Regions from separate parts of the Homo sapiens genome. Here all the other regions are linked to region 1. Evidence: promoter capture Hi-C in 16 types of primary human blood cells and fetal thymus (Javierre and others, 2016). All regions are on one chromosome and are shown on one strand. The core of a region is centred on a gene start or on the middle of the fragment in contact, and the rest is flanking DNA. Distances in the headings are between cores, read along the strand shown.

The links. Contacts are between HindIII fragments. The CHiCAGO score rates a contact against its expected background, and 5 or more counts as called.
Region 2: a fragment that was not itself captured here is called in contact with the fragment with the promoter of PDS5A in region 1 in 14 of 17 cell types (fetal thymus, megakaryocytes, naive CD4 T cells and 11 more); the score reaches 37.5 in fetal thymus.
Region 3: a fragment that was not itself captured here is called in contact with the fragment with the promoter of PDS5A in region 1 in 5 of 17 cell types (total B cells, erythroblasts, endothelial precursors and 2 more); the score reaches 7.6 in total B cells.
Region 4: a fragment that was not itself captured here is called in contact with the fragment with the promoter of PDS5A in region 1 in 6 of 17 cell types (endothelial precursors, total B cells, erythroblasts and 3 more); the score reaches 8.5 in endothelial precursors.
Region 5: a fragment that was not itself captured here is called in contact with the fragment with the promoter of PDS5A in region 1 in 6 of 17 cell types (megakaryocytes, total CD8 T cells, total B cells and 3 more); the score reaches 7.9 in megakaryocytes.
Region 6: a fragment that was not itself captured here is called in contact with the fragment with the promoter of PDS5A in region 1 in 1 of 17 cell types (endothelial precursors); the score reaches 5.1 in endothelial precursors.

Annotation. Positions count from the first base shown.
Region 1 is chr4:39,975,942-39,981,158 of GRCh38, reverse strand. It overlaps PDS5A (PDS5 cohesin associated factor A), which reads left to right and starts at 3,248. Exons shown (of 33, transcript NM_001100399.2): 1 at 3,248-3,702; 2 at 4,542-4,719. The coding sequence starts at 4,582. RefSeq lists silencers at 3,024-3,663, 3,714-4,463 and an enhancer at 4,001-4,909. The HindIII fragment of the contact is 4,779 bases long and covers 358-5,136 here.
Region 2 is chr4:39,468,188-39,473,404 of GRCh38, reverse strand. LIAS (lipoic acid synthetase) reads right to left here. Exons shown (of 11, transcript NM_006859.4): 8 at 3,241-3,386; 9 at 2,099-2,169; 10 at 194-305. Among named protein-coding and RNA genes, the nearest start is that of LIAS, 12 kb to the right of the region's middle. The HindIII fragment of the contact is 3,280 bases long and covers 735-4,014 here.
Region 3 is chr4:39,484,987-39,490,203 of GRCh38, reverse strand. No RefSeq gene overlaps it. Among named protein-coding and RNA genes, the nearest start is that of LIAS, 29 kb to the right of the region's middle. The HindIII fragment of the contact is 4,347 bases long and covers 855-5,201 here.
Region 4 is chr4:39,502,841-39,508,057 of GRCh38, reverse strand. It overlaps UGDH (UDP-glucose 6-dehydrogenase), which reads left to right. Exons shown (of 12, transcript NM_003359.4): 8 at 2,310-2,440; 9 at 2,688-2,821; 10 at 3,550-3,641; 11 at 4,073-4,183. Among named protein-coding and RNA genes, the nearest start is that of UGDH, 22 kb to the left of the region's middle. The HindIII fragment of the contact is 1,301 bases long and covers 1,358-2,658 here.
Region 5 is chr4:39,520,404-39,525,620 of GRCh38, reverse strand. UGDH (UDP-glucose 6-dehydrogenase) reads left to right here. Exons shown (of 12, transcript NM_003359.4): 2 at 4,102-4,270. The coding sequence starts at 4,109. Among named protein-coding and RNA genes, the nearest start is that of UGDH, 4.4 kb to the left of the region's middle. The HindIII fragment of the contact is 4,613 bases long and covers 646-5,217 here.
Region 6 is chr4:39,672,690-39,677,906 of GRCh38, reverse strand. No RefSeq gene overlaps it. Among named protein-coding and RNA genes, the nearest start is that of UBE2K, 23 kb to the left of the region's middle. The HindIII fragment of the contact is 883 bases long and covers 2,622-3,504 here.

The DNA.
Region 1 (5,217 bases), core at 1,999-4,498:
TTCCCAAAGTGCTGGGATTACAGTCCTGAGCCACCGTGCCTGAGCCACTGAGTCTAATTTTTTGTCTTTTTAATAGAGATGGGGTTTCACCATGCTGGCCAGGCTGGTCTGAAACTCGTGACCTCAAATAGTCTGCCTGCCTCCCCCTCCCAAAGTGCTGGGATTACAGGTGCGAGCCACCGTGCCCAACTCTTCCCTACTTTATTTTCATATACATGTATTATTGTTATTTTGGTCTATTTCTCCCCAAACAAATTAAGGTCCACCAGGAGGGCAGGCCTTCATTTGTGAAACAATTATTTAAAGAGGCCTATAATATAAGGCATTGTTTTGGGCACTGAGCGGGGAAGAAAAGCTTGGTGGAGGTTGGGTGCAGTGGCTCATGCCTGTAATTCCAGCACTTTGGGAGCCCAAGGTGGGTGGATCACCTAAGGTCAAGAGTTCGAGACCAGGCTGGCCAACATGGTAAAACCCTGTCTCTACTAAAAGTACAAAAATTAGCCAGGCGTGGTGGCGCATGCCTGTAGTCCCAGATCTTGGGAGGCTGACGCAGGAGATCTGCTTGAACCCAGGAGGCGTAGGTTGCAGTGCGCCCAGATTGTACCACTGCACTCCAGCCTGGGCAACAGAGCAAGACTTCGTCTCGAAAAAATAAAATAGGCCAGGCGCAGGGGCTCACACCTGTAATCCCAGCACTTTGGGAGGCCGAGGCGGGCAAATCACGAGGTCAGGAATTCGAGATCAGCCTGGCCAATATGGTGAAACTCCATCTCTACTAAAAATATAAAAATAAGCTGGGCGTGGTGGTGTACGCCTGTAGTCCCAGCTACTTGGGAGACTGAGGCAGATGAATCGCTTGAACCTGGGAGGCAGAGGTGAAGTGAACCGAGATCGCACCACTGCACTCAAGCCTGGTGATAGAGTGAGACTCCATGTTAAAAAAAAAAAAAAAGAAATCAACCAGTAAGGCCAGGCACGGTGGCTCAAGCCTGTAATCCCAGCACTTTGGGAGGGTGAGGCGGGCAGATTACCTGAGGTCAGGAGTTTGAGACCAGCCTGACCAACATGGTGAAACCCTGTCTCTACTAAAAATAACAAAAATTAGCCGGGCATAGTGGCGGGCGCCTGTAATCCCAGCTACTTGGGAGGGTGAGGCAGGAGAATTGCTTGAACCCAGAAGTCAGAGGTTGTAGTGAGCCAAGATCACACCACCACACTCCAGCCTGGGCGACAGAGGGAGACTCTGTCTCAAAAAAAAATTAGCCCGGTATGGTGGCACACACCTGTAGTCCCAACTACTTGGGGGCCTGAGGCACAAAAGTCGCTTGAACCTGGGAGGCGGATGCTGTAGTGAGCCGAGATCATGCCACTGCACTGCAGTCTGGGCGACAAAGTGAGACTTCATCTCAAAAAATAATAAAATAATATAAAAAATAAATAAAATAAAATATATGTACATATACAAAACTCCATTTAATAATGGGCAAGCTACTGAGGAGGATGAAAGATAAAATCATTGTTGTTTAATTAAATGTAACACACAAAGAAATATCAAATTTGGCCGGGCGCGGTGGCTCATGCCTGTAATCCCAGCACTCTGGGAGGCCGAGGCGGGCGGATCACTAGCTCAGGAGATCGAGACCATCCTGGCTAACATGGTGAAACCCCGTCTCTACTAAAAATACAAAAAAAAAAAATTAGCCGGGCGTGGTGGCGGGCGCCTGTAGTCCCAGCTACTCGGAAGACTGAGGCAGGAGAATGGCGTGAACCCGGGAGGCAGAGCTTGCAGTGAGCCGATATCACGCCACTGCACTCCAGCCTGGGTGACAGAGTAAGATTCCGTCTCAAAAGAAAAAAATAAATATCAAAAGTGACAGGGAGAGCCTAAAAAGAGAGCAGCTTTTGGTCCACTTAATAGTTTGGATGAGGACACTTTTAAATGGATTCTGCCTGGTACTGTAAATGCCCAAGAACAAAGCATTGACTTTTGGGCAGAGTTCTAGCAAATCAGCAACTGTGGAGTGTCAGATTCGCAATGACTGCTCTTGTGTAATACGTCAAAAACAAGTCAGTGAGCTGAAATGCAGTACCTTTACTATTTTTAAGTTGACGTTAAAGGATGTGGGAAAAAAATAGACCAATGGGTACCCATCAAGAATAATTTGAATAAACAATCGAATATCATTTTAAACTATGGTAGTGGTCAGTTTCAAGAGCTGAATGTGATTTCATATTATCGTATCCTTTTTTCAACTTTCTCTTCGGAAATTTTGTGTATGCTCTTGATTTTTTTTAAATAGGTAAGTGTATGTTCTTGCGTTAATTTGTTTCAATTACATACATTAAATTGCTCAAACACTGCTGCGTGCACTGTTTTTACCTGATAGTGGTTTTCCTTTGGATGACAGAAAACGTTAATGCTTGGTAGGTTTAAAACATTTTTAAAAAATGAGCTCTTCCTTATTTACAAGAATCACCCACCCAATTAATAAATGCTTATTTCTGGGTTCCACTCTCAGAGATTTTTATGTTTATGTATATTTTTATATTTTTTAGTGTTTTATTTTATATGTTATATTTTTATATGTTTTATGTTCATATATATTTTTACGTTAAAAAAACATATATTTTTATGTTTTTTAATCTTTGGAGTTGGAAACCTACGTTTTCAGCCAGTACCCAAAGTGATTGTGAGGCCTGGTGGCCCAAAGACCATACCTTGAGAACGACTCGACCCAATGCTATTTTCATGTTTTGCAGCTTTCAAAATATTAACTTCAGAAATCTAAGGAGGGTGGGCAACTCGGGTGGCTGTCAGAAGACCCGAGAGTGAGCCGCTCACGCTGCGCCCCATTGCACAACTTTCCTTGACTTTGCAGATCTCTCCCTGAGGAGGAAATCAGTTCATTTTCACCGAGCAATTAACTACCTCCCAACCAGTTTCGTCTATGTCCCTCAGGATGACCCCCAAAAGTCACCAGCTCATCGCCGCTGCGAAAGATAAAGCACTGTTTGCCCTGCGTGCCCTCGCAAGGCCGCGGGAACCTGGGCTCGCTTCCCGCCACCCGGGCTCCTCCTCCTCTCGCCCTCTCCGGTCGGGTCCTCCGGGAGGCGCCCCGCGCGGCAGGTATTGGCGCCAACCGGGTGGCGGCGCTGTCCGCCCTGCGCGCGGCCGCCTCGGGCCCGAGGGAGGCGGATGCACGGCCGGCGGAGGAAGGGGAGGGAGCGAGGAGCGCGCGCTGCTCTCGCGTGCTCTCGCGCCGCTCGCGTGACCGGCCGGTGTGTGCGCGAGGCCCCGGCTCCCGGGGCACGGACGGCCGGGCGCGCGCCTCTGCGAGGGGCGTCCGGGTCCGAGTCGGCGGTCCGGGCCGGCGCGAGGTGCGTGCGGGCGGGCCGCGGGGGTCCCGGACGGACACAAGCGCACACACTCCCGGAGGAGCCTTCGAGGCTGCTCTTCCTCGGCCAGACGGAGAGCGGCACTGTCTCCCCGCCCAGCGCTCACTCGCCCCGCGTCTCCCCCCGCGGCGGCTGCTCCTCCTCGGCACCGCCAGCCCCAGCGCCGCTCCCGGGCGGGCGGGCGGCGGCGGCGGCGGCGGCGGGACCCGCGGAGCCGCTTTGTGTGCAGCCCGACTAGGGGCGGCGGCGCAACCACCTGACAGAGGCCCGGGCGCTCGATGCACCTTCCGCCCGCATGAGGAGGAGGTAAAGGCGGCGGCGGCTCGGCTCCCGCCCTAGGCTGCTGGAGGGAGGGGACGGAAGGGGAGACTGGAGGGGGGGGCCGCGGGTCCGAGGCCCGGTGGGGCCGCCCGAGGGTGCCGGGAAGGCCTCGGCGGTGCCGGAGGCGCCAAGCGGCCGGGGGCCAGAGAAGCAGCTGGGGTCCCTCAGCCGAAGTTGAAGGAACAAAATGTGAAGTGCGGAGGCGCGTCAGCCGCTTCCTGGCGTGGGGCTGAGGGTGGAGGGCGGCTTGTTTTCCCCTCCCGCGGGGGTGAGGGAGCGGAACAGGGGAGGGGTGGCAGCGCGGCGGGGACTACCCCGGGTCCGAGGCTCGGCTGGGCAAGGGCGTTTTGTTCCCGGCAGCCGCCGCTGCGCGTGGGTCCGCTGGGTCCCTAGTTTTGCGGCCTAAGCCGAGCCCTATAGGCCTCGGGTCTGGTTTCCCGGAGGGGACTGGCCGGGCGGGACTGGGTGCTTCCCCACCGCCGAGCGGGGGCCTTGGGGTCCTTGCCGGCCTCCCGGGGCCGCCAAACTTCGGACCCTGGTGCTCGGGGGTGGATTTCATTGTGAAAGGCGGAATGGGAAACTCCTGGCGCTGTTCGGCGGCCACGGCGGCTGGTGCGGAGGAGCCCCGTGAGCCTGGGGCTGGCAGGGCCGGGTTGGCGGGGCCGGCGGGGTTCGATCCCTGGGAAAGAGCGGGTGGCGAGGCCGCTGCCGGGTCCCCGGCCTCTGGGGAGACAGGGCCTTTTCCAGATTAGAGAGATTTGAAATGAAAAAAGAGGTTACAAAGTCGCCCCTTTCCCGCTGAACTTTGGTTTTCTGACCGATAGAGGCCGGTAGAGGACTGTGAACCAAAAGTTGTCCCCCAGGATGGACTTCACCGCGCAGCCCAAGCCTGCCACTGCCCTCTGTGGCGTCGTGAGTGCCGACGGGAAGATCGCTTACCCTCCGGGGGTAAAAGAGATCACCGACAAGATCACCACGGACGAGATGATCAAACGCCTGAAGGTAAGTGTCTGGACGGATTTTGATGTCTTTGGTAGAAGGCGCTTTCTCCTGTGATACTGCTACCCTGCTCAGTCTGGCCTTTAAAGTTCCAAGTTTTTTAGATCTCTTACCCCCTCTGAAAGGTACTGTTGTATCTCAGATAACATCTTTGAGTGAGTTTTGTAGGGATATAACCATTGTGGGAAATTTAAAAGGAGTGTGATTTTTCAAAAACTTACTGGTTTTCAAGCATAAGAATTTGTGTTTTTAGAGTTTTTTCTGGAGGTATTTAATGAGAATACTGTTCAGAGTGGCTTGCAAACTTAGGTGTAGGCAGTAATTTGCCTAAGAAGTTTACTATTTTCAGCTTCTGAAGGGGATTGATTAAAGCGCAAAGTCCTTTTTAAAAATTTGCATAATTTTCTATATCCAGAAGCTTAAATATGTATATATGGTGGTTAAACTTTGACAGAAGGTACAGACTTTTCATAATTCAGGCTTAAAGTAAGATGATTTAAG
Region 2 (5,217 bases), core at 1,125-3,624, 510 kb after region 1:
AGATTAAGAGAAACTTTTCTTAATATGATCCCCATGGAGCAAAGCTCCTAAGGATGTTCCAGAAGAAAAACTACGCCCTCTACCAAGACCACCAAAGGTATTAGAATTTGTCAAGAGTTTTAGTGACTGGTGGTAGAACTTAATGTGGAAAGTTAACGGCCTAAATGAAACCATGCCCCACAATCTAACTTACCTGCTTTATATGAAGAACGCACCAAAGGGCCACTTGCAGTATAATGAAATCCAAGTTCATTTCCTACTTTTTCCCAGTATTTGAATTTTTCAGGAGTAATATATTCTTCAACCTAGATTTAAATAATTACTTCTGATCAGATTTTAGAATTCCACTTTGATTCTGCAGAAAGTCTATACCTATGTATGCAGAATGCTCTTCACTGCGTAATTTATCTTGCCCCCACCCCCAGGCTTTTGTCCTCTCCCTCCTCCCTGACTACGTGTTTACTGGTTACTTTTTGGCCACTCTATTGGGATGTAAATACAGGGAATTACAGAGACAGGGAAGCATATCAATTTTGTGCTACAATGGCTATTCCAAAGGACAGAGAAAGAAGAGATTATCTACAGATATTATTTATCTATATTTTTCCTTCGTTAACAGCTAAATTCAAGAATTACTCATGCTTATCTGATTCTTGAGGACAAGACTGTCTTACTCAACTTGTATCTTCTGCTTAGCACTGTGACTGGCACATGGTCACTGCTCAACACAAGCTTCTTGAATGAATGGATAAATGTCCATGATAGAAATAGAAAGAATGGTTTCCCATTCTTTCTTCGCCTCTGGCTCTAACATAACAAAAACAAGTTACACAATAACCAAGTGTAAATGAGTGCCATTTCCCAACTTTTAAATTCTTTTTCTCTAGGTTCACTTGAGTTGTGAAATTTGTGAAGAGAATGGGGGAGGCAGCAAATATGTGCAAACGTAGCTGATTTATGTAGATAATAAAATGAAAACTGGGACTTATAAGAATACAGCTGAGCCTTGAACAACATGGTAACTGCACAGGCCCACTTATACAAGGATTTTCTTCCATTTCTGCCACCCCTGAGACAGCATGACTAACTCCTCCTCTTCTCCCTTGTCCTCATCTACATGAAGATGATGAGGATGAAGACCTTTATGATGGTCCACTTCCACTTAATGACTAGTAAATATATTTTCTTTTCCTTATGATTTTCTTCAAAAAATTTTTTCTCTAGCTGACTTTATCATAAGAATAAGATGTGTATATATGTGTGTGTGTGTGTGTGTGTGTATATGTGTGTGTGTATATACAGATATACACACACACATACGTATATATATAAGTACATGTAACATACAAAATGTGTGTTAATTGACTGTTATTGGTATGGCTTCCGGTCAACAGAAGGCTATTAGTAGTTATGTTTTTTTGGGAGTCAAAAGCTATACATGGGCTGGGCGCAGTGGCTCACACCTGTAATCCCAGCACTTTGGAAGGCTGAGGCGGGTGGATCACCTAAGGTCAGGAGTTCAAGACTAGCCTGGCCAAAATGATGAAACCCCATCTCTATTAAAAATATAAAAAATTGGCTGGGTGCGGTGGCTCACGCCTGTAATCCTAGCGCTTTGGGAGGCCGAAGCGGGTGGATTGCCTGAGCTCTCAGGAGTTCGAGACCAGCCTGGGCAACATGGCAAAATCTTGTCTCTAAAACTACAAAAAAATTAGTCGGGTGTGGTAGTGTGTGCCTGTAATCCCAGCTACTCAGGAGGCTGAAGCATGAAAATCATTTGAACCTGGGAGGTGGAGGTTGCAGTGAGCCGAGATTGCCCCACTGCACTCCAGCCTGGGCGACAGAGCGAGACTCCGTCTCAAAAAAAAAAAAAAAAAAAAAAAAAAATTATATATATGTATATTTTAGCCGGATGTAGTGGCACCCGCCTGTAGTCCCAGCTGCTCAGGAGGGTGAGGCAGGAGAATCACCTGAACCCAGGAAGCAGAGATTACAGTGAGCCGAGATTGTGCCACTACACTCCAGCTCAGGCGACAAGAGCAAAACTCCATCTTTAAAAATAAAAAAAAAAAAAAAAAGCAAATCAAGATACATGTACCTTAAGGTGACGCCTTGTTGGCTGCATATATTGTCCTAAAGTCAAGCAGTCTACATCTGCCTCACGAAGTGCTGTAGGAAGAAAAGCACAAATTACATTAGCAAATACTTTAATTGTAGATCTAAGCATAATTTTCCTAAGGAATATTTAAAAACGGTGTGAACTTTATGACAGTCCATAATCTTCATGTTGGGGAATAAGACAACATCTATTCATTCAAAAGTATTATGTGCCAGGGACTGTGGTAAGGACTGAAAACAATAATAATTAAGACAGTCATGTAGGGCTGATACATACAAGGATAAATACTTCTAATACTATGGAATCAATGCTAAAATAGTAGTGGAGGGTATTTTAGAGTAGGAGTCTGGTAGAAAAGGTATGGGAAATGGTATATGCAAAAACCTCAATGCACCTATATTATAGAGCAAATATGTTGCATTAGGCTTTTACTCAATGCACAAGATATGCTATGGGGGCTGTGATTTAAACTATGACATATCAGAATCTTTCTAATAAACTGTGTGCAATGTGGTAAACAGCAGGTCTTGATTATTATATGAACTTATTACTCTTTGAACCACTAAATAACTACAAGTAGTCCAAGGGTCCTCAGCTAAAATTAAAACTTTGAAATTCCAAAGTTTAAAAAGTCCAAGAATCACAAAGCAAATGGACTTACGGGACTAAAGTTCAGCAAAGTCCAAAGCACACCATGTTATGTGACAATGCTACAAGTAAGCTCTTTCTCAGAGGCCTGGATTAGTCTCATTGATCTATGAACTGTCAGTGCCTGGTACCAGGCTGGCTCTCCAAAAGTGTCCAATGATAGAATGAGAAAAGTGGATGAAATCATGCTTTCAGTGGATGCAAAGGATGGGGAATAAAATGGGATATAAATTTTGTATCCTGAGCGTCATGCATATCACTCCATGAAATTCCAAGAAAATTTATTTCCTTTGCTTTTTTTTTTTTAACTTGTATTTTAGATTTGAGGGTGCATGTGCAAGTTGGTTTCCTTTTCATGCTGCCATCTATAACCATATACTTTTCTTTGTTCTTAGAAGGGCCTTCAAAGTGAGTGGGTTCCTGCTATTACTCAAATTACATGGGAAAGATTTTTCATTTTTCAATTTCTTTACCTTTCATTGTTGCATATACTTGCTCATCATTCTCGCCTAAACCCAACATTATAGATGTTTTAGAAATAACATCAGGCTGAACCTTCTTGGCATGTTTCAGTACACGTAGGGACTGATCAAAATTGGCCCGAGGATCACGAACCTTACTGGAAAACAGCAGGACTGTTGTCAGCAAGAATTACAAGTTCAACCAAGTACATAGTTATGCAAGCAACCTGAAAGACCAGAGAAGTACATTCTGCACATTATCTTAAATCACATAGTTCAAAGGTAGCATTTATGCACAGATGCCTGTTAATTTAGGAAAGAAAAGGCCTCACTGGGCTCCCTAGTTCTATCTCAAGCCTGGGGCAGAGAAAAGTAGAATGGAAGAAATTACTTCAGTTTATGCATTGAGAAACCAGAATTCTGAAGCGAAAAATTAGAAGAGAAAGGAAAAAAAGCAGAAGTAAGAGAGTCTCCATACTGAACAAAGAAAAAAATAAGCTGAACCCACATGTCAGAGGGTTGAAACTTTCAAGTTCATTTCTTTTCTGAAGACTAAGCTGCCCTCTGCTGGTAAGTATACAACACTGCCACATATTAGGTAAAGAAATGCATGATTCTGGAATTTTCACTGGAAAGGATCATGTTTTTAAGTGAAACCAGGGAAACTGGCACCCACTGGTGGTGGTATCATGATGAGGTTGGAACAGGCTGTGTCCTAGACTTCAACAATGGCCAAACCACCATGGCTTAAATGACTTATCCTTTAAGCCAAAAGGCCAGAAAGCTTCTGATGTTAAACTGGATTTCATTTCAATTCTAATGCAGCTTTATTTTCTGTAATTGTTTTTCATTGGAGACTAGTTAACAGGAAAGAGAAGAAACAAATTTATGAACTTAAAAGTAACTGAAACTGACATTATAGAAATCACTTTTTAACAGAATTTCTCCACTGAAATTAAGTTATGGTCTCTACTGTTTATGATTTAGTGAAAATGGTGGTTATTGTTTACTGTAACTTCTTTCAGGCTCTATGACACAGATCATATGTAGAAGCTAATAAAATCACTGCTAAATGCTAAAATTAAAGAAAAAAATGATATTACTCTTGCCCGAAGCTTAAAATGTTCATTTTTCTAAAATTTGAATGGATGTGGATAACAATCCTTACTTTTTTTCTTACATCAGTGTTACTTGCCAATGATTAGTCTTAATTACTGAAATTATTAGGAATAAGAAAGCATAGTGTCTACTTTTTTTAAAAAGTACATCTGAATGATATGAGTTTTTTTCTTTTTTTTTTTTTTTGAGACAAAGTTTTGCTGTCGCCCAGGATGGAGTACCATGGCACTATCTCGGCTCACCGCAACCTTCGCCTCCCGGGTTCAAGCAATTCTCCTGCCTCAGCCTCCAGAGTAGCTGGAATTACAGGTCTGCACCTAGCTAAAATTTTTTGTATATTTAGTAGAGATGGGGTTTCATCATGTTGGCCAGACTGGTCTTGAACTCCCAACCTCAGGTAATCCGCCCGCCTCGGCCTCCCAAAGTGCTAGGATTATAGGCGTGAGCCACGAGTTTTTCTTCTGCATCATTTATTACACATATTAGTGCTGAATATATATATATAAATATATATGAATATATATAATATAAAAAAATATATATATATATATATATTTTTTTTTTCCTTTCTCTTTCTAGATGGAGTTTCGCTCTTTTTGCCCAAGCTGGAGTGCAATGGCGCAATCTCACCTCACTGCAACCTCCGCCTCCCGAGTTCAAGTGATTCTTCTCCTGCTTCAGCCTACCGAGTAGCTGGGATTACAGGCATGTGCCACCACGCCTGGCTATCTTGTATTTTTAGTAGAGACGGGGTTTCTCCATGTTGGTCAGGCTGGTCTCGAACTCCCAACCTCAGGTAATCTGCCTGCCTCTGCCTCCCAAAGTGCTGAGATTACAGGCGTGAGCCACAGCATCCAGCCAAATATATTT
Region 3 (5,217 bases), core at 1,779-4,278, 490 kb after region 1:
TAATAGAAAGCATCACTATTATTTAATTCTTCATGGCAGCATAATTTTCTTCAGTTGGCAATGGCTGGTACTTAGAGCCATTAGTCGAGTGGTGGTTGTTTTGTCTACTAAGTCGATTGAATGCTTCTGACAAGGAGGGGTAAGAGGCAAGGGAGTATTAAGCAACCACTTAACGTAGCCAGCACCACTTCTGTTCATGTTTTAAATCCACCAAAAGACGAAAACCAACCTCTGAAGAGGGAGTCTGGGGACTCTTTTGGTTTTCAGGTTTGGGTTTCAGGTATGAGCTTGGGATTATAGCACATAGAAGGCCGGCCATCTCTTGGGTCACAGACTGAATAGGTTGTCTGGTTGTGCATGCAAGTCCCCAGATGGCTTCCTGTTCACTCATAATACGTATAGTACAATAAAGTCTTATCTATTGTGTTTCTTAACCATGTGGTATGCATGCAGTGAGGGATTCCTCTATGGGTCTTTCTCTTTTTTCTGAGACGGAGTCTCACTGTCTCGCCCAGGCTGGAGTGCAGTGGCGCGATCTCGGCTCACTGCAAGCTCCACCTCCCAGGTTCACACCATTCTCCTGTCTCAGCCTCCAGAGTAGCTGGGATTACAGGCGCCCGCCACCACACCCGGCTAATTGTTTGTATTTTTAGTAGAGATGGGGTTTCACCATGTTAGCTAGGATGGTCTCGATCTCCTGACGTCTTGATCCGCCCGCCTCAGCCTCCCAAAGTGCTGGGATTACAGGCATGAGCCACCGCGCCCGGCCAGCAAAACAATTAATATTATACGGAAAGTTATTGGGCTTAAGATCTCTGGCTACATTTACTTCCCTGATGATGATTCTTCAAGCTTCAGCCGGTGCATAGACTAGTCAGCTTCTGGAGTGACTAGAGCAGGTCTGCTGTCTCTACTGGCAGCTTAGTTTTGTCGCAGGCTGAGTCGGGTCGGGTGGTCTGGGTCCTGGTGGCTGATCTACCGGTCTTGGGCCGCCAGTTTCAGCAGACTGTGGTGGATCTTAGGCACGATTCTCGCAACTTTAACAGCAGTGGGAGTGGACAAGATTACAGTATGGGGCCTATCTCTTATGGGTCCCAAAGTGGTTGGATTCCAATTTTTTAACCTAAAGAAAGTCCCCAGGTTTAAATCGGTGTGCTGGGTCTGTTAGACTTAACAGGTATTCTTTCATGTACCCAGCTATGAACTGTTTACATGGCTATCCCTAAGCCTGCATTTGCTTTCTCAAAGTTAGTTTTCCTAGCTCACGGAGATCACCTCTAACTTGACCTATGATTAGGGATGGCCGGCTAAACAAAATCTCACAGGGCGAATACTCAGTTTGTTTAGTGGGGGTGCGCCTGACTCAGAGGAGGACCATGGGCAAGACTTGATCTAATCTCAGATAAGTCTCCTGGCAATATTTCTTCAGTAGCTGCTTGAGTGTCCATCCAGTTCATGCACTCCACTTTTCCTGAGCTTTGTGACTGGTAGGCCTTGTGTAATTTCCATTTTATTTTTAACAGCCGTGTTAGATCTTGAACTATTTCAGCTACAAATGCCAGTCCATTGTCTGACACTAGAGTTAGAAGCAGTCTAAATCTGGGAATAATGTCTCTTATCGGTACTTTAGTTACTTCCTGCGCCTCTTCTGTCCGGGTGGGGAAAGCCTCAACCTACCCTGAGAAGGTGCAGATGAACACCAACATGTACTGATAGCCTCCTGCTTGGGGCAGCTCGGTAAAGTCCAGAAGCAAGTTTTCACAAGGTGTGGCCTCTATTTCTTGAATTCCTGGGGGCCGGGTAGGCCCCTGCAGAGGGTTGTTCTGAACACAAGTTAGACATTGTTCACAAACGGCTCGGGCAATGGCAGTGAGTCGTGGCACACAGAAATGGAGTCTAAGTAGTGTCTCTAATGCCATTTTTAAAAAATATGAGTTATTTGATGGAATTGTTTTTACAAACTTAGGGGCTACCATTTCAGGAATGGCTAGCCTCCCATCTGAGAATTTCCACCATCCTCCTTCAATGTAATTTCTGGCTTCTTGGGCAAATTAGGCCCGTTTCATTTGGAGAATAATTTGGGACCTCTGGCAGGGGAGGCTCTGGGAGGAGAGGCAAAGCTAGGATCTCCTCTTTACAGTGCGGGGTAGTCATTGCTGACCGTTTTGCCTCCTTGTCTGCTTTTCTGTTTCCTTTGGCCTCTAGTGTTCCTGCCTTTTGGTGCCCTTTGCAATGCATAACGGCTACTTTCTTTGGAGCAGCCCATATAGCATTTAAGAGCTGTAGAATTTCTTCTTTGTACTTTCTTTGCCCCCTACAGTTAAAAGTCTTCTTTCTTTATATATAGCTCCATGAACATGTAATGTAGCAAAGGCATACTTATAATCCATGTAGACATTGACTATTTTTTTTTTTTTTAGACGGGGCTCGCTGTGTCACCCAGGCTGGAGTGCAGTGGCGCCATCTCGGCTCACTGCAACCTCCGCCTCCCAGGTTCACACCATTCTCCTGCCTCAGCCTCCCGAGTAGCTGGGACTACAGGCGCCCGCCACAACACCCAGCTAAGTTTTTGTATTTTTAGTAGAGACGGGGTTTCACTGTGTTAGCCAGGATGGTCTCGATCTCCTGACCTCGTGATCCGCCCGCCTCAGCCTCCCAAAGTGCTGGGATTACAGGCGTGAGCCACCGTGACTGGCCAGACATTGACTTTTTTTGTCTTTTGCTAGCAAAAGGGCTCTTGTCAGGGCTATTAGTTCTGCCTTTTGGGCTGATGTTCCGGTGGGCAGAGACTGTACCTCTGCTGCTGAGTTTAATGTTACTACTGCATACCCGGCTTGTCAGATCCCTTCCAGTACAAAACTGCTTCTATCTGTAAAGTATTCAACATCTGGGGCCCTGAGGGGTTGGTCTGTAAAATCTCTCTGGCTTGAGAACACCTTATCTACTATATCTCCACAGCAATGAAGGGGGCCTCCTGGTTCTGACCCTACTACTACCAGTGCCTGATTTACAGCCAGCCCTGGTGAGTTATCTTCAGCCTATACTCCAGGAATTTTAGTAAGTAACCGATACATTTCATTTACTCCTGGTTCTGGAGTCTTTTTTGCATATAGTCTCCAGTCCTCAGTCTGTGGGACAGTAAGGGTTAACATCATGGCCTTCAGCTCAGTTAGGCTCAAAGTCATACTTCCTTGTGGCCCAAAAGCAATCTGTACTTGGAGTTTTTGGAGTAGGTCTCTTCCCAGCAAAGGAACTGGACAATTTGGGAGGTATAGGAATTCATGTTGGACCTCTCGTCCTCCTATAACACACCTCCTTGACTGACAGGCCTTTTCTCTGAGACTCTAGTGGCTCCTACAATAGTTGTATAGTTCGTGATTAGTGGCCCTATAGGTCAGGTCACTACTGAGTGTTCAGCCCCAGTGTCTACCATAAAGTCCATTAGCTGGCCCGCAACTTCTAATGTGACTATTGGTTCCTGGGGGCCTAAAGAGAAGGAGCCCAGTCTGTCCCAGTCTTCATATCCTTCAGCCCCTGCCAGCCTGATTAGATCAGTATCTAGTTCCCCCAGGGTGCGGCAGCCCTTGGCAGATGGTCTCTTCATACCATGGCCCTGACTACTCTCCTCATTACCTTCTGGACACTCATCCTTCCAGTGTCCCTTCTTTTTGCATCATGTACATTGATCTCTCTCTAGCCTCGGCCGGCTCTCAGATCTCTGCCTAACTTGACCTCTTCCACATCCATGTCCACGTCCACATCCTCTTAGAATACTAGTTTCCCTTTCTACGAGGGCTGCCGCTAACAGATCGGCCCTTTTCTCAAGCCTCTGTTCTGCTTCCTTCTTTGCCTCTTGGTCACGGTTAACATACACCTCAGTGGCCACCTCTATAAGCTGGGTGGCATTCGTGCCTGTAAACCCTTCTAATTTCTGCAGCTTCTGTTTGATGTCACCCTGGGCTTGTCCTACAAATGCTGTGTTCACCATGTGCTGATTTTCAGCTGCTTCAGGGTCAAACGGAGTACAAAGCCGGAATGCCTCATACAGTCTTTCATAAAACTGGCTAGGGCTTTCATCTGCTCCCTGGAGCATCTCTGAGATTTTCCGTATGTTGATTGCCTTTTTCCCACCATTTCTCAGCCTTTGCAGGATTGCCTCTTGGTACCTCTGCAGGTGCTGAAACTGGGTTACATCATTTGGGTCCTCGTGTGGGTCTGCTTCTGGGAGGTGGCCTTGAGCATATGCCTGAGCGTTCATTGTGCCTGCTGGTACATTTGCTTCAAGCCAGTGGAGGGCTGCCTGAGTTATCCTCCGGTGCTCCTCAGTATTAAACAGCATCAGGAGGAGCTGTTTGACATCTGGCCAAGTTGGATTGTGTGTTAGGAAGATGGACTGCACCAGATCTATAAAGGCCTGAGGTTTTTCTGTGCAGGAAGGGGTATGGTGCTTCCAGTTTAGGAGATCAGTGGTTGAAAAAGGCTGGTAAATGAAGGTTCATTCCCTTCCCTGGATTTGACCTTGTTCATTATAATAGAGGGGGGTCCTCTTTTTTACCTGAGAGGCATTTGCATAACCTGAGTGCGGCCATGAGTAGATATAGGGGAATTGGTCCAGGTGTCCCGGCTGTCCTCCGACCCCAGTTACTACCCTAAATACATGACCAATTGCTTCCCTGCCACTCTTGCGTCCTGGGTTGGTTAGGGTGTAAGTTTCCCCAACATTTACGAGCCATTCTCTCATCCTGTGTCGGACTACTAGTTGCACCCTGGAAGGTGATCAGGCTCCCCTTCCCTCCTTATGGGACAGGTCCTGCCTTGGGCCCCAATACCTTACCGTGGTCCTGAAGTGCACTGACCCTGGAATCGTCCTATACCCCTTAGGTTCCGTTGCACTGTCAGCGAAGGGACACTGGGTCGCAGGAGAGCTGATCTCCCCTCCGGGTTGAAGTTCTCCTGATGGCACACCTGGGGTCACAGGTATCCCGCCAGTCTGGGGCTCCAGCCCCACAGGCAAAGGAGACAGCAAACCTGTCATCTCCTCTCCCGGCTGGCTCACCAAAATGTTGTAGGAATCAGAGGACCAAAGAGACCAAATGGGTGTTACAGGAGGATTTTTATTAAGGTGTATGCTGGCTCAGTGGATTCATATCCAAAAAATTGAGGCCAGAACAAAGACAGGGCTCAATTTTTATAAGAAAGCTTACAGAAGCAGAATAA
Region 4 (5,217 bases), core at 759-3,258, 470 kb after region 1:
TAATCAATGTTGATGGAAGTTTGTGATAAGCCAGTATTCTAATTTGCTCCCAGAGTAAAACAAAAACAATTATCCTTAATTATAACTCTTCTCTCTTTTTTTTTTTTTTTTTTTTGAGACAAGATCTCACTTTGTCACCCAGGCTAGAATGCAGTGGTGCCATCGCTGCTCACTGCAGTGACCTCCTGTGCTCAAGCAATCCTCCCACTTCAACCTCAACTTCAGGAACGCACCACCACATTGGCTAATTTTTTTATTTAAAAAATTTTGTTTGTAGAGACAAGGTCTCACTATATTGCCCAGGCTGGTCTGAAACTCCTGGGCTCAGCAGTCCTCCCATCTTTGCCTCCCAAAGTGCTGGGAATATAAGTGTTAGCCAGTGAACCTAGCCTAATTCTTCTCTATCTTGAAAGGCATAAAATCAAAATAAAATAAGAACCTATATTATAACGTTGGTCGGGCATGGTGGTTCACACCTGTAATCCCTGTACTTCGGGAGCCTGAGGTGGACAGATCACTTGAGGGTTGGGAGTTCGAGACTGGCCTGGCGAGGCTGAGGCATGAGAATTGCTTGAACCCAGGAGGCGGAGGTTGTAGTGAGCCAGGATTGTGTCACTGCACTCCAGCCTAGATGACAGAGCGAGACTTCGTCTCCAAAAAACAGAACCTATATTGTCATGCTTTCAAGTGGTTTTGTATCTGCTGATATTTGTTTTGGACCTTTCAGACTCACAGAGCTAAAATTAGAAACCCCTTCCAAATTGGAAGCATTAAGTGAGCTCTGGGAAGTAGAGTTGATGTTTATTGAATGCTTACCCTGTACTGGGTACTCTTTTGGGCACTTTGCATACAGTATCTCATTTAATCCTCATCACTAACATTATCCTCTTTATTTGATGAGGGAACTGACATGGAGATATTAAGTAATTTGCCCCAATTACTAGTCGGTATATGTGCCTTTCCCAAATATTTTCCCCGAGTTTATAATTTTTCAGGTTTCAGCAGTAGATATGGGAGGGAATCTAAAGAAATGCACGTTTCTTTTTTTAAAATGTTTTACTTTTTAGAGACAGGGTCTCACTGTGTTGTCCAGCCTAGATTCCAACTCTTGGGCTCAAGTGATCCTTCCACCTGAGCCTCCTGAGTAGCTGGGACTACAGGTGCACCACCCTGCCTAGCCGGAAATGCACATTTTAAAGTGAAAACAGATACAATTAGTGTCATTCCAGTCAATCCATCATGATGGCTTTATCTCACTGTTCATTGTGTGAAAAATGCAGATAAACTCTTGATTTTCCAACACTTTGGGCTAATTGCTTAAGCTCTCAGGGTTTGATTGAGATGGTCCCTGAAAGCTTAAAGCCTTAAAAAAGTTTCTTTTGCTTCGCCCACCCGGTTACCAACCTAAATTTAACAGATTAAGTGATCAGAGACTCTTATAACATTTAGTTAGTTAAAAAACCTTGTCAAATAGTTGTGGTGTTATGGTTCATCCAGAGGCAGCTAGAACTCTGCACATTGTTTGTTGCCTGTCCACTTTCCACTGAAACTGAATTTTTGTGAATAGTGGGGCACAAGCAAATGAAGGAATACTTTGGGGTTTCATTGCTTGTAGCTTGTTTCCACAGAATTTGGAGACACGGACTAAGGATAGTATGGTTTCCTATGTGCCTTATTTAGGTTGGTCTCATAGCTGAACCTCAAATGCGCTTAGAATTAAAACTTGGTTGTGCGCTCCACTTTTGGCATCCATCCTAGCCTTATGCATAGAAAATCAAGCCAAATGAAATTAGAAATTTTTAGAATGGCTTTTTTTTTTTTTTTAAATTTACGGCAGGGTCTGGCTCTGTCGCCCAGGCTGGAGTGCAGTGGCATGATCTCGGCTCACTGCCACCTCTGCCTCCTGTGCTCAAGCCATCCCACCTCAGCCTCCCAAGTAGCTGGGACTACAGGCACATGCCACCTTGCCTGGCTAATTTTTGTATTTTTTGTAGAGACAGGGTCTCGCCGTGGTGCCCAGGCTGGTCTTGAACTCCTGAGCTCAAGCAATCGCCCACCTCGGCCTCCCAAAGTGCTGGGATTACAGGTATGAGCTACCACTGCTGGCCTAGGATGGCTTTAAGGAAGGGGATGAGTGATTTTTTTTTTTTTTTAATCCATAGGCACTAGAGTTTGGTTAATTTTTGCCTCTTGTTAATATGTAAGCATTGTATTTGTACAATAGCACTCACCATAAAATTCTGAGTAATGTGTGTCATAGGCTGTGCCTCTTTTAACTAATCATTGCACAATTGTACATGTAATTTCAGGTCATAGACATGAATGACTACCAGAGGAGGAGGTTTGCTTCCCGGATCATAGATAGTCTGTTTAATACAGTAACTGATAAGAAGATAGCTATTTTGGGATTTGCATTCAAAAAGGACACTGGTGATACAAGGTATCAGTTTTTAAAAATATTTCAACCCTTTTGAGATTGTGTTAACTCCTCATCTTAATTTTTTGATTGGGGTAGGTGTACATAAAATACATGTATATATATAAAATATAAAGAATAAAAATAAATATCCATATCTTCACCACTCTACCAGCTTCAGAAATATAATTTTACCTGTATCTTAAACTCCCTGGTATTAGAATATAATGCCACATAAAGCTTACCAATACTGATTTTTTTTTTCCTATAGAGAATCTTCTAGTATATATATTAGCAAATATTTGATGGATGAAGGTGCACATCTACATATATATGATCCAAAAGTACCTAGGGAACAAATAGTTGTGGATCTTTCTCATCCAGGTGTTTCAGAGGATGACCAAGGTAAGGCTTTGAGTCTCATGAATCATTTTGAGTCCAGACCTGAAAACTTTTTATCTTTTGGAAACCTTAGGTTGTTCAGTTTTATCATGTATATCATTGGTAGGCCCTCTTTTCAACCTCATTTCTCTGAAATTAAAGTCTTAGGCATAATGTCATCAACATTGATTTGAAGTGATCAGCTGTGGATTGGTCCATTGATTTTTCCAACATACTCCACAAATCCCCAAAATTCCAAAGAGATGCTTCCAAAGCAGGGTTTGGGGCCTCCCACCATCACTCCCATTGATACTGCAATCAGATTATTCCCAACTCTTCCTGCAGTCCTAGTGTTAGAATACCTATAGTACTATCCCCTTATGTGTGGTTTTGCTTTCCACGGGTTCAGTTATCTGCGGTCACTTGCAGTCTGAAAGTACTAGAAGGAAAATTCCAGAAATAAACAATTCATAAGTTTTAAATTGTGTGCTGCTTCATCCTGCCTGGGACATTTATCATTCCTTTGTCCAGCATATCCACATTCCATATGCTACTTAGTCACTTAGTAACTTTTGGCAATCAGATTCAAAAAACAGGTATGTGTGTAAGTATATATAGGGTTCAGTACTCTCCACAGTTTCAGACATCTACTGGGGGTCTTGGAATGTATCCCTGCAGATAAGGGGGGAACTACTGTAATGTCATATAACTCCTTTCTTATTTCTGTTTTTTTGTTGTTGCTATTGTTACAGTGTCCCGGCTCGTGACCATTTCCAAGGATCCATATGAAGCATGTGATGGTGCCCATGCTGTTGTTATTTGCACTGAGTGGGACATGTTTAAGGTAAGGTAACAGAAAAGATACTAAGGAAAATTCTAGAGGTGTTCCACTATCAGCTGGGGTTGAGTATGTGTTCATGTATGTGTTTTTTTGTTTTTTTGTTTTTTTTTTTGAGATGGAGTCTCGCTCTGTCGCCCTGGCTGGAGTGCAGTGGCGCAATCTCGGCTCACTGCAAGCTCTGCCTCCTGGGTTCACGCCATTCTCCTGCCTCAGCTTCCTGAGTAGCTGGGACTACAAGCTCCTGCCACCACGCCCAACTAATTTTTTGTATTTTTAGTAGAGACGGGGTTTCACCATGTTGGCCAGGATGGTCTCGATCTCCTGACCTCGTGATCCACCCATCTTGGCCTCCCAAAGTGCTGGGATTACAGGCATGAGCCACTCCGCCCGGCCCACGTATGTGTTTTAATTGTTCCTGTGGTTTGTCTTTACAGGAATTGGATTATGAACGCATTCATAAAAAAATGCTAAAGCCAGCCTTTATCTTCGATGGACGGCGTGTCCTGGATGGGCTCCACAATGAACTACAAACCATTGGCTTCCAGGTAATCATGATCCTGGATTGTTTTTTTTCTTTTTGTTTGGTCTTTAGTGTTTGATTCAACAACTGGGGACTATAATCTAGTCAAGTTGACATCAAAAGACCATCACAGCAGGTCAGAATATGTTTGGCTAATTAAGATGATACCTTCTTTCTAGGGAAGTTCTTTTGGGGAACCAAATCAATATCAGAAGTTTATTTCAACAATTAGGAAAGTGCTCATTTGCTTTTTAAACCCATTGTGTGGGTTTTAGAATTTTCTTATTTTCTTTAGCAGTAACGTAACTCTGGGGCAACATGTCAGTTCTTTAGGAAGTCCCTATGGGATTTTTCTGACTACTCTACTTCTCTACTTCCTCCCTAAATTTGCGATCTAAAGGTAGAGAAAGAAAGAGGTCTTGGTCAATCAGCAGGTGTTCATCCTATACCTTCTGAGTACTCAGCACTGTGCCAGTGCTGTGAGGGGTCTGAATGAAACATATGGGAGTTTCAATGGTACTGGCCCTCTTCTGATTCAAAGTTTGTCAACTGGCCAGGCATAGTGGTTCACACCTGTAATCCCAGCACTTTGGGAGGCTGTGGAGGTAGACCACTTAAGGCCAGGAGTTCGAGACCAGCCTAGCCAACATGGTGAAACCCCGTGTCTATTAACAAATACAAAAATTGCTGGGCGCGGTGGCTCACGCCTATAATCCCAGCACTTTGGGAGGCTGAGGCGGGCGGATCACAAGGTCAGGAGTTCGAGACCAGCCTGGACAATACTGTAAAACCCCATCTCTACTAAAAATACAAAAATTAGCTGGGTGTGGTGGCACACACCTGTAATCCCAGCTACTTTGGAGGCTGAGGCAGGAGAATCGCTTAAACCTGGGAGGCGGAGGTTGCAGTGAGCCAAGATCACACCACTGCACTCCAGCCTGGGTGACAGAGCAAGACTCCGTTTTGGGAAAAAAAAATAATAAAAATTAGTCAGGCTTGGTGGCCTGTGCCTGTAATCCCAGCCACATGGGAGGCTGACGTGGGAGGATTGCTTGAGCC
Region 5 (5,217 bases), core at 1,703-4,202, 460 kb after region 1:
GCAGGAGAATGGCATGAACCTGGGAGGCAGAGCTTTCAGTGAGCCGAGATTGCGCCACTGCACTCCAACCTGGGCAACTGAGCGAGACTACGTCTCAAAAAAAAAAAAGAAAAAGAAAAGAAAATGGGGCTGGGCGCAGTGGCTCACGCCTGTAATCCCAGCACTTTGGGAGGCCAAGGTGGATGGATCACCTGAGGTCAGGAGTTCGAGACCAGCCTGACCAATATGGTGAAACCCCGTCTCTACTAAATATATAAAAACTAGCTGGGCGTGGTGGTGGGCACCTGTAATCCCAGCTACTCGGGAGGCTGAGGCAGGAGAATTGCTTGAACCCAGGAGACGGAGGTTGCAGTGAGCCGACATGGTGCCACTGCACTCCAGCCTCGGTGACAGTGAGACTCCGTCTCAAAAAGAAAAAAGAAATAGAAAATGGAGTTGGCAGACATCTGTGTCATGCAAAGTGTGTCACTAACACTATGTCAAACTCCATGTTAAAGCTTATTGAAGATTTTATTGAAACTTCCAAGTGAGCATTTATTTGGACTTGCACAGATTGTACATCAGCCTTTTCATTGATTCTCCCATTGTCATCGGTAAGCCGTATTTCATGGGAAATAGCAAGGCGAGAATACCCAAAATAAAGCTTGTGTAAAACACATCCAGTTCTGTGATACAAGTTCACCTGCCATCAGTAGTCTATCCCAGCTGATGTATGTAAAGCAAGTTGAAATGTGGTCTCACAATCAAGGCAGATAAGAAGTAACTCTGGGGAAACATGCTGAAGTTCTTTAGGTAACTCAAAAAAAGAACTTGGCCAGATGCGATGGCTCACACCTGTAATCCCAACACTTTGGGAGGCTGAGGCAGGTGGATCAACTGAGGTCAGGAGCTTGAGACCAGCCTGGCCCACATGGTGAAAACCTGTCTCTAGAAAAAATACAAACATTAGCTGGACATGGTGGCGGACACCTGTAGTCCCAGGTACTTGGTACTTGGGAGGCTAGGTGGGAGACTCACTTGAACCTGGGAGGCGGAGGCTGCGGTGAGCCCAGATTGTGCTGTTGCACTCCAGCCTGGGCAACAGAGTGAGACCTTGTGTCAGAAAAAAAAAAAAAAAGTTGATAGTATTCTGGTCAATTACTGCAAAAATACTATGATCGGCAATCTGAACTAAAGCTATTTACACAGAAGTCTTCATCTCAAAAAGAGACGCCCTTGTGGAGAGTTACTCATTCATTCAATTAATAATCATTGAGAGGCTGCTATTCTAGGAGTCAAGGATACAGCAGGGAGCAGCAGCAAATAACTGTTAGCCTGGCTGTGCCTTATTAAACTATGAACTCCTTAAGCCCAGGAGCTGCAACGAGTAGACACTGATTCTACATTTAATAAATGTGTTAGCAGAACCTGTCCTGGTTGAGATTAAGAGTAAAGGCTGCCCTAATAACCTTTTGGCTAGGAGATTAAGTGGTAACCCTAAAAGATCCTCTGGTCCAACATTACTTTGAGATTCTACTCTTTAGGTATTCTAGATATACTGGGTTTAATTAAGTGAAAAAAGCCAGGTGTTAATAGTATATATGGTATTCTATTGAATTTAGAAAGACAAGATTATTAGAATATATATGTATATTTACTTGTAGCTGGGAGGATATACAAGAAAACGGATTGCTTGTGTGGAAGCAAAGTAGGGGATAGCAAAGTAGATAAGGAAGGGGTTGGAGTGAGACTTCTCATGTGTACCTTGTTACAACAGATTTAATTTTGAACCATATGAACATTATTCAGAATCAATAATTTTTTTTTTTTTTTTTGAGATGGAGTTTCGTGCTTGTTGCCCAGGCTGGAGTGCAACATGGCACGATCTCAGCTCACTGCAACCTCCGCCTCCCGGGTTCAAGCGATTCTCCTGCCTCAGCCTCCCAAGTAGCTGGGATTACAGACATGTGCCACCATGCCCCGCTAATTTTGTATTTTTAGTAGAGATGGGGTTTTGTCATGTTGATCAGGCTGGTCTTGAACTCCTGACCTCAGGTGATTCAGCCTCCTCGGCCTCCCGAAGTGCTGGGATTACAGGCATGAGCCACCGTGCCTGGCCAGAATAAATAATTTTTAAAAATTTATTTCATATGGCTAAGAATACTATTTGAATACAGATTCAAATAGAATACTGTTCTATTTAATTGAATCATATAATTCAAAATTCTGTCCATTTTTACTATTTTACCAAAGTTCTATTTCTTTTAATTGTTTTTTAAAAGTCATGAGGGGCCTGGCACAGTGGCTCGTGCCTGTAATGCTAGCACTTTGTGAGGCTGAGGCAGGCAGATTGCATGAGCTCAGGAGTTCGAGACCAGCCTGGGCAACATGGCAAAACCCTGTCTCTACTAAAAATACAAAAATTAACCTGGTGTGGTGGCATGCACCTGTAGTCCCAGCTACTTGGCGGGCTGAGGCACGAGAATCAAACCCAGGAGGCGGAGGTTGTAATAAGTGCAGCTGAGATGGTGCCACTGCACTTCAGCCTGTGTGACAAAGTGAGATTCTGTCTCAAAAAAAATAAATACCGTGGTGGCTCATGCCTGTAATCCCAGCACTTTTGGAGGCTGAGGCGGGTGGATCACGAGGTCAAGAAATCCAGACCATCCTGACCAACATGGTGAAACCCCATCTCTACTAAAAATACAAAAATTAGCTGGGCATGGTAGTGTGTGCCTGTAGTCCCAGCTACTCGTTAGGCTGAGGCAGGAGAACTGCTTGAACCCAGGAGACGGAGGTTGCAGTGAGCCGAGGTCACATTGTACTCTAGCCTGGCGACAGAGCAAGACTCTGTCTCATTAAAAAAAAAAAAAAAAAGTCATGAGGGATCAGACTCCATGAGTTGATATCTATACCACTAAAGATCAATGCATAAGCCAGATTGGTAGTTTATTAACACAGGCTACAAACAATCCAGGATACCTACATGGATTAGTCAGCTCATTTTCTTCTAGTAGGGAAATCTATCCAGAGAACCAAACGAAAATTTAGAATATTGTTTAATACAGATTCAAACCAAAAAGAATTGGATAATCTTAATTATATGATTTGTCTTTTTTCATAATAGGGATATTCTTCTTGCCAGGCATTCAAATTAGGCCAGCCTTCCAGAGTGCGTTCTCTGATCCATACAGGAGTATACTAAAAAATTCTTAAACTCTCTGATTACCATTTTCCTTCTCTTTGGAATCTGTGAATGGGTTAGATTAGATGATGTCTGAGGTCTTGGCAAGGCAAAACCATTCTTTGCTTTTAAGAATCTGATCAGTTTGACAGTTCTCATTATAACGGATAAATGAGCATACTTATGTATAAATCAGTTCCTTGTCATTTTGATTAGTGTGAATCAGTTCACCTAATGCTTTTGAAAATCTATCAAAATCTGTGTAACCCACTTTTCTGCTGGCATTGGGAAGGAAAAAAATCTGTGTAACAGCTTTGGTAATTACAGAAATTACATTTTCTTTAACCACCTTATGGTTTCTGATTAAAGTTGAAATGGAGTTTAAGATTATTGCCTAGTACCTAAAAGTAAACTTTGAAAGCCAAAGTAGTGTGTAGGGCATATAATCTCATCAGAGGCCAATTCTGGACTGTGGAACTAATCTTATTCTATATCATCGTAATCTAAACCTGTTATAAACTCATCTTTGTACACTAGCATTTATTTAAGCAAGAATCGTACAAGTATGTTCATCCTGGAGCTTTCTCTCAGCAATCAAAGTTGTCCTAGTGTATTATAGACCTAAGGAAGGTTTTACTTTGATTCTTTACTTTCTAAATATTAGGTCATTATAATCTTTGTGGCTCCCCTTCAGTAATATCAGTTACTGTAATTATTTCCATATGTTTCATGCTAGTGCAGCTGAGAACAGGCTAGGTCATCCAATTGGAATGTTATTTTTTAAATCACTATTTCCATAATTCCTCAGAGCGAATGTAGGAAATCTTTCCAGATATCTGTCACCTTGACAGTTTTTATAAAGTATAATTAATGTACAATATTATTTCTTTAAATTTTCTGTTTTCAATACTAGAACAGTCTTACTGTTTTCCTTCTAGTACAATCATGTTTGAAATTAAGAAGATCTGTTGCATCGGTGCAGGCTATGTTGGAGGACCCACATGTAGTGTCATTGCTCATATGTGTCCTGAAATCAGGGTAACGGTTGTTGATGTCAATGAATCAAGAATCAATGCGTGGAATTCTCCTACACTTCCTATTTATGAGGTAAACATATTAAACATCTCTTTGTTTTTATGCTTTTTTCTTACTGTCTTTATTATATCATTTATATGCACTATTAATATAAAAATCTATAACAGCAACTGGTAAGAAATTAAATGAAAAAAATCTGGATACAAAACACATGGACATTAAAACACATTACTTCGGGTAATGTGGGTAGGAAAAATGACCAGAAAGAAGTCTATCAGAATGGTGTATTAGTGCAGTGAGATTATGGATAATTTTTTCTCTTTCCTGTTTTCTTTTTTTTTTTTTTTTTTTTTGAGACGGAGTCTTCCTCTGTCGCCCAGGCTGGAGTGCAATGACGCGAGCTCAGCTCACGGCAACACCCACCTCACGGGTTCAAACAATTCTGCCTCAGCCTCTTGAGTAGCTGGGATTACAGGCGCCCACCACCACACCCAGCTAATTTTTGTATTTTAGTAGAGGTGGGGTTTCACCATGTTGGCCAGGCTGGTCTTGAGCTCCTGAACTCAGGTGATCTGCCCGCCCCGGCCTCCCAAAGTGCTGGGATTACAGGCGTGAGCCACTGCACCTGGCCTTCTTCCCTGTTTCCTAATTTTGTCTGTTAGTATCATTACCATATTATAATAAAATTAAAAAGTGGTATCCTGTAAAAATAAAATAAATACAACTTTTAATAATATTAATATAAATTTAATATATTTTTGGATTATTTTACTAACATCACATAAACATTAGATGGACAAATGGCATCTTTCATATTTAGAGTTTGGTGCCACAAATATTTTTAACTGGAATTTCAAAATTTTGTGAATTTAGAGAATTTAGAAAAATATGCTTCTAACTATTTTACTGAGCTATCTGGTTTCCTTTTTTTTTATTATTTCACTGTAAAATGAGTTCATCATATTATGCTTTTGAAACTCAACAGAAAAGCATTTGCAAATTTGATGGTAGCATTTTCT
Region 6 (5,217 bases), core at 1,814-4,313, 300 kb after region 1:
ATCCCAGCACTTTGGGAGGTCGAGGTGGGCAGATCACTTGAGCTCAGGAGTTCGAGACTAGCCTGAGCAACATGGTGAAATCCTGTCTCTACTAAAAATACAAAAATTAGCTGGGCATGGTGGTTTGTGCCTGTAATCCCAGCTACTTGGGAGACTGAGAAGAGAGGATCACTTAAACCCAGGCAGCGGAGGTGGCAGTGAGCTGAGATTGCACCACTGTACTCCAGCCTGGGTGACAGAGCAACACTGTCTAAAAAAAAATTAAATTAAAAATTATTAAAAAGTTGGCCAGGCACGGTGGCTCACGACTGTAATCCCAGCACTTTGGGAGGCTGAGGCGGGTGGATCACGAGGTCAGTTCAAGACCAGCCTGGACAACATGGTAAAACCCCGTCTCTACTAAAAATACAAAAAATTAGCCAGGTATGGTGGCGTGTGCCTGTAGTCCCAACTACTCAGGAGGCTGAGGCAGGAGGATTGCTTGGACCTGGGAGGCAGAGGTTGCAGTGAGCCGAGATCATGCCACTGCACTCCAGCCTGGGTGACAGTGTGAGACTGTGTCTCAAAAAAAAAAATTATTAAAAAGTTAACCTTATATATGCTCCTGTCATACAGTAAGCCACTATAAATCTGTTAGCTACCATTTTTTTCTTCTAGACAGAGTCTTGCTCTGCGTCCAAGCTGGAGTGCAGTGGCGCCATCCTGGCTCACTGAAGCCTCTGCCTCCTGGGTTCAAGTGATTCTCCTGCCTCAGCCTCCCGAGTAGCTAGGACTACAGATGCACACCACCACGCCCAGCTTATTTATTTATTTATTTTTTTGAGATGGAGTCTCAATCCATCACCCAGGTTGGAGTGCAGTGGCACGATCTCGGCTCACTGCAACCTCCACCTCCTGATGCCCAGCTAATTTTTTTTTTTTTTTTTTTTTTTGAGACGGAGTCTCGCTCAGTCGCCCAGGCTAGAGTGCAATGGCGCGATCTCAGCTCACGCAAGCTCCACCTCCTGGGTTCACTCCATTCTCCTGCCTCGGCCTCCCAAGTAGCTGGGACTACAGGTGCCTGCCACCACGCCCGGCTAATTTTTTTTTGTATTTTTAGTAGAGACGGGGTTTCACTGTGTTAGCCAGGATGGTCTCAATCTCCTGACCTCGTGATCCGCCCATCTCGGCCTCCGGAAGTGCTGGGATTACAGGTGTGAGCCACCGCGCCCGTCCGATGCCCAGCTAATTTTTGTATTTTTAGTAGAGACGGGGTTTCACCATGTTGGCTAGGATGGTCTTGATCTCCTGACCTCGTGATCCGCCCGCCTCAGCCTCCCAAAGTGCTGGGATTACAGGTGTGAGCTACCGCACCTGGCTGCTACCACTATTAAGAAATGTTTGCAGCCAGGCGTGGTGGCTCATGTCTATTTTCCCAGTACTTTGAGAGGCCGAGGTGGGCAGATTACCTGAGGTCAGGAGTTCGAAACCAGCCTGACCAACATGGCAAAATCCCATCTCTACTAAAGATACAAAAATTAGCTGGACATGGTCGTGGGCACCTGTAATCCCAGCTACTTGGGAGGTTGAAGCAGGAGAATCGCTTCAACCCAGAAGGCGGAGGTTGCAGTGAGCCGAGAACGCAACATTGTGCTCCAGCCTGGGCAATAAAAGCAAACTCTGTCTAAAAAAAAAAAAGAAAAGAAAAGAAAAGAAAAGAAAAAGAAATATTTATTTGCAAGCATATTATTAGCTGAGCATCATTAAACCAAACCAGGGAAAATTATTGGTCACTGCCACTTCTTTGGTTCTACTTTTAGTTTGCTTATTTTTGTGTGTGTGTATTTATTTATTTTTTCCAGACAGTCTCGCTCTGTTGCCCATGCTGGAGTGCAGTGGCACGATCTCCGCTCACTGCAACCTCCACCTCCCAGGTTCAAGCAATTCTCCTGTCTCAGCCTCCTGAGTAGGTGGGATTACAGGAGCGGGCCACCATGCTCGGGTAAATTTTGTATTTTTATTTTATTTTATTTATTTATTTATTTATTTATTTATTTATTTATTTATTTATTTATTTTGAGATGGAGTCTCGCTCTGTCACCCAGGCTGGAGTCCAGTAGCGTGATCTCAGCTCACTGCAAGCTCTGCCTCCTGGGTTCATGCCATTCTCCTGCCTCAGCCTCCAGAGTAGCTGGGACTACAGGCGCCCGCCGCCACACCTGGCTAATTTTTTTTTTTTTTTTGTATTTTTAGTAGAGACGGGGTTTCACCACGTCAGCCAGGATGGTATCCATCTCCTGACCTCATGATCCACCCACCTCGGCCTCCCAAAGTGCTGGGATTACAGGCGTGAGCCACCGTGCCCAGCCAAATTTTGTATTTTTAGTAGAGACGGGGTTTCGCCATGTTGGCCAGGCTGGTCTCAAACTCCTGGCCTCAAGTGATCCACCTGCCTCGGCCTCCCAAAGTGCTGGGATTACAGGCATGAGCCACTGCATCCGGCCCTACCACTTGACTTTACGCAAGTTTCTTAAAACACTCTAAACTTCAGTTTCTATACTTTTTGGTAAGGATTAAAATAGATAGATTTCTTGAAATAATTTAACACAGAACCTGACACATAGTAGACATTCAGCAAAGCTTAGTTCTTGCTCCTCTCCCTTCTGCTTTCTGTAATTCATCGGCCAAGGCTGGCTTTCACATCCAAATCAAGTAACCAATTTCAAATCTTACTTTTTTTTTTTTTTTTTTGAGACGGAGTCTCGCTCTGTCGCCCAGAGACTGGAGTGCAGTGGCAGGATCTCGGCTCACTGCAAGCTCCGCCTCCTGGGTTCATGCCATTCTCCTGCCTCAGCCTCCCGAGTAGCTGGGACTACAGGCGCCCGCCACCACGCCCGACTATTTTTTTGTATTTTTAGTAGAGACGGGGTTTCACCATGTTATCCAGGATGGTCTCGATCTCCTGACCTCATGATCCGCCCGCCTCCGCCTCCCAAAGTGCTGGGATTACAGGCGTGAGCCACCGCGCCTGGCCGTCAAATCTTACTTTTAAACCTTACTATCTTAGTGTGAATATCAGGGTTCCCAAGGCTCAGCTGAATCTCTGTCCTTCCCACTGTTTCACTGCTTAACCATTTCTTGAATTCTAAGAGCCTATAGAATCCTGTTTTGCCTGCAATAATTTGAATTGGATTTATACCATTTACAACCACTAATGTATCCATTATCTAAAATGGCAATCAGTTAATCTGCTAAGCTAAATTGCTTAAAATAACTAGTGGCTTTGAATTAAATAATTGAAATATAATTTCATGGCCAGAAGTTTTTTTCAGAAATAATTTAGTCCTGGCCAGGTCCAGTGGCTCATATCTGTAATCCCAACAATTTGAGAAGCTCAGGCAGAAGGACCCCTTGAGGCCAGGAGTTCAAGACCAGCCTGGGCAATATAGGGAGAGTCCATCTCTCCAAAAACTTGAAAAAAATTAGCTAGGCATCATCTGGCGGGTGCCCCTCTGGGATGAAGCTTCCAGAGGAAGGAACAGGCAGCAATCTTTGCTGTTCTGCAGCCTCCACTGGTGACACCCAGGCAAACAGGGTCTGGAGTGGACTTCCAGCAAACTCCAGCAGGCCTACAGCAGAAGGGCCTGACTGTTAGAAGGAAAACTAACAAACAGAAAGGAATAGCATCAACATCAACTAAAAGGATGTTGTCCACACAGAAACCCCATCAAAGGTCACCAACATCAAAGACCAAATGTAGATAAATTCACGAAGACGAGGAAACACCAGTGCAAAAAGGCTAAAAATTCCAAAAACCAGAACGCCCCTTCTCCTCCAAAGGATCACAAGTCCTCACCAGCAAGGGTATAAAACTGGACAGGGAATGAGTTTGACTAATTGACAGAAGTAGGCTTCAGAAGGTGGGTAATAACAAACTCCTCTGAGCTAAAGGAGCATGTTCTAACCCAATGCAAGGAAGCTAAGAACCTTGGAAAAAGGTTAGAGGAATTGCTAACTAGAATAACCAGTTTAGAGAAGAACATAAATGACCTGATGGAGCTGAAAAACACAGCACGAGAACTTCGTGAAGCATACATGAGTATCAATAGCTGAACTGATTAAGTGGAAGAAAGGATAATCAGAGACTGAAGATCAACTTAATGAAATAAAGTGTGAAGACAAGATCAGAGAAAAAAGAATGAAAAGGAATGAACAAAACCTCTAAGAAATAGGGGACTATGTGAAAAGACCACACCTACGTTTGATTGGTGTACCTGAAAGTGACAGGGAGAATGGAACCAAGTTGGAAAAGACTCTTCAGGATATCATCCAGGAGAACTTCCCCAACCTAGCAAAACAGGCCAACATTCAAATTCAGGAAATACAGAGAACGCCACAAAGATACTCCTTGAGAAAAGCAACCCCAAGACACATAATCATCAGATTCACCAAGGTTGAAATGAAGGAAAAAATGTTGAGGGCAGCCAGAAAGTTCAGGCTACCCACAAAGGGAAGCCCATCAGACTAACAGCAGATCTCTCTGCAGAAACCCTACAAGCCAGAAGAGAGTAGGGGCCAATATTCAACATTCTTAAAGAAAGTTATTTTCAACCCAGAATTTAACATCCAGCCAAACTAAGCCTCATAAGCAAAGGAGAAATAAAATCCATTACAGACAGGCAAATGCTGAGAGGTTTTGTCACCAGCAGGCCTGCCTTACAAGAGCTCCTGAAGGAAGCACTAAATATGGAAAGGAAAAACCGGTACCAGCCACTGCAAAAACAAGTTCTGAAATTGAGGCAGTAATAAGTATCCTACCAACCAAAAAAAGTCCAGGACCAGATGGATTCACAGCCAAATTCTACCAGAGGTACAAAGAGAAGCTGGTACTGTTCCTTGTGAAACTATTCCAAACAATAGATAAACAGGGACTCTTCCCTAACTCATCTTATGAGGCCAGCATCATCCTGATACCAAAACCTGACAAAGACACAACAAAAAAAGAAAATTTCAGGCCAATATCTCTGAAGAACATTGATGTGAAAATCCTCAATAAAATACTGGCAAACCAAATCCAGCAGCACATCAAAAAGCTTATCCACCATGATCAAGTCGGTTTCATCCCTGGGATACAAGTCTGGTTCACCATACACAAATCAATAAAAGTAATCCATCACATAAACAGAAGCAATGACAACAACCACAGGATTATCTCAATAGATGCAGAAAAGGCCTTTG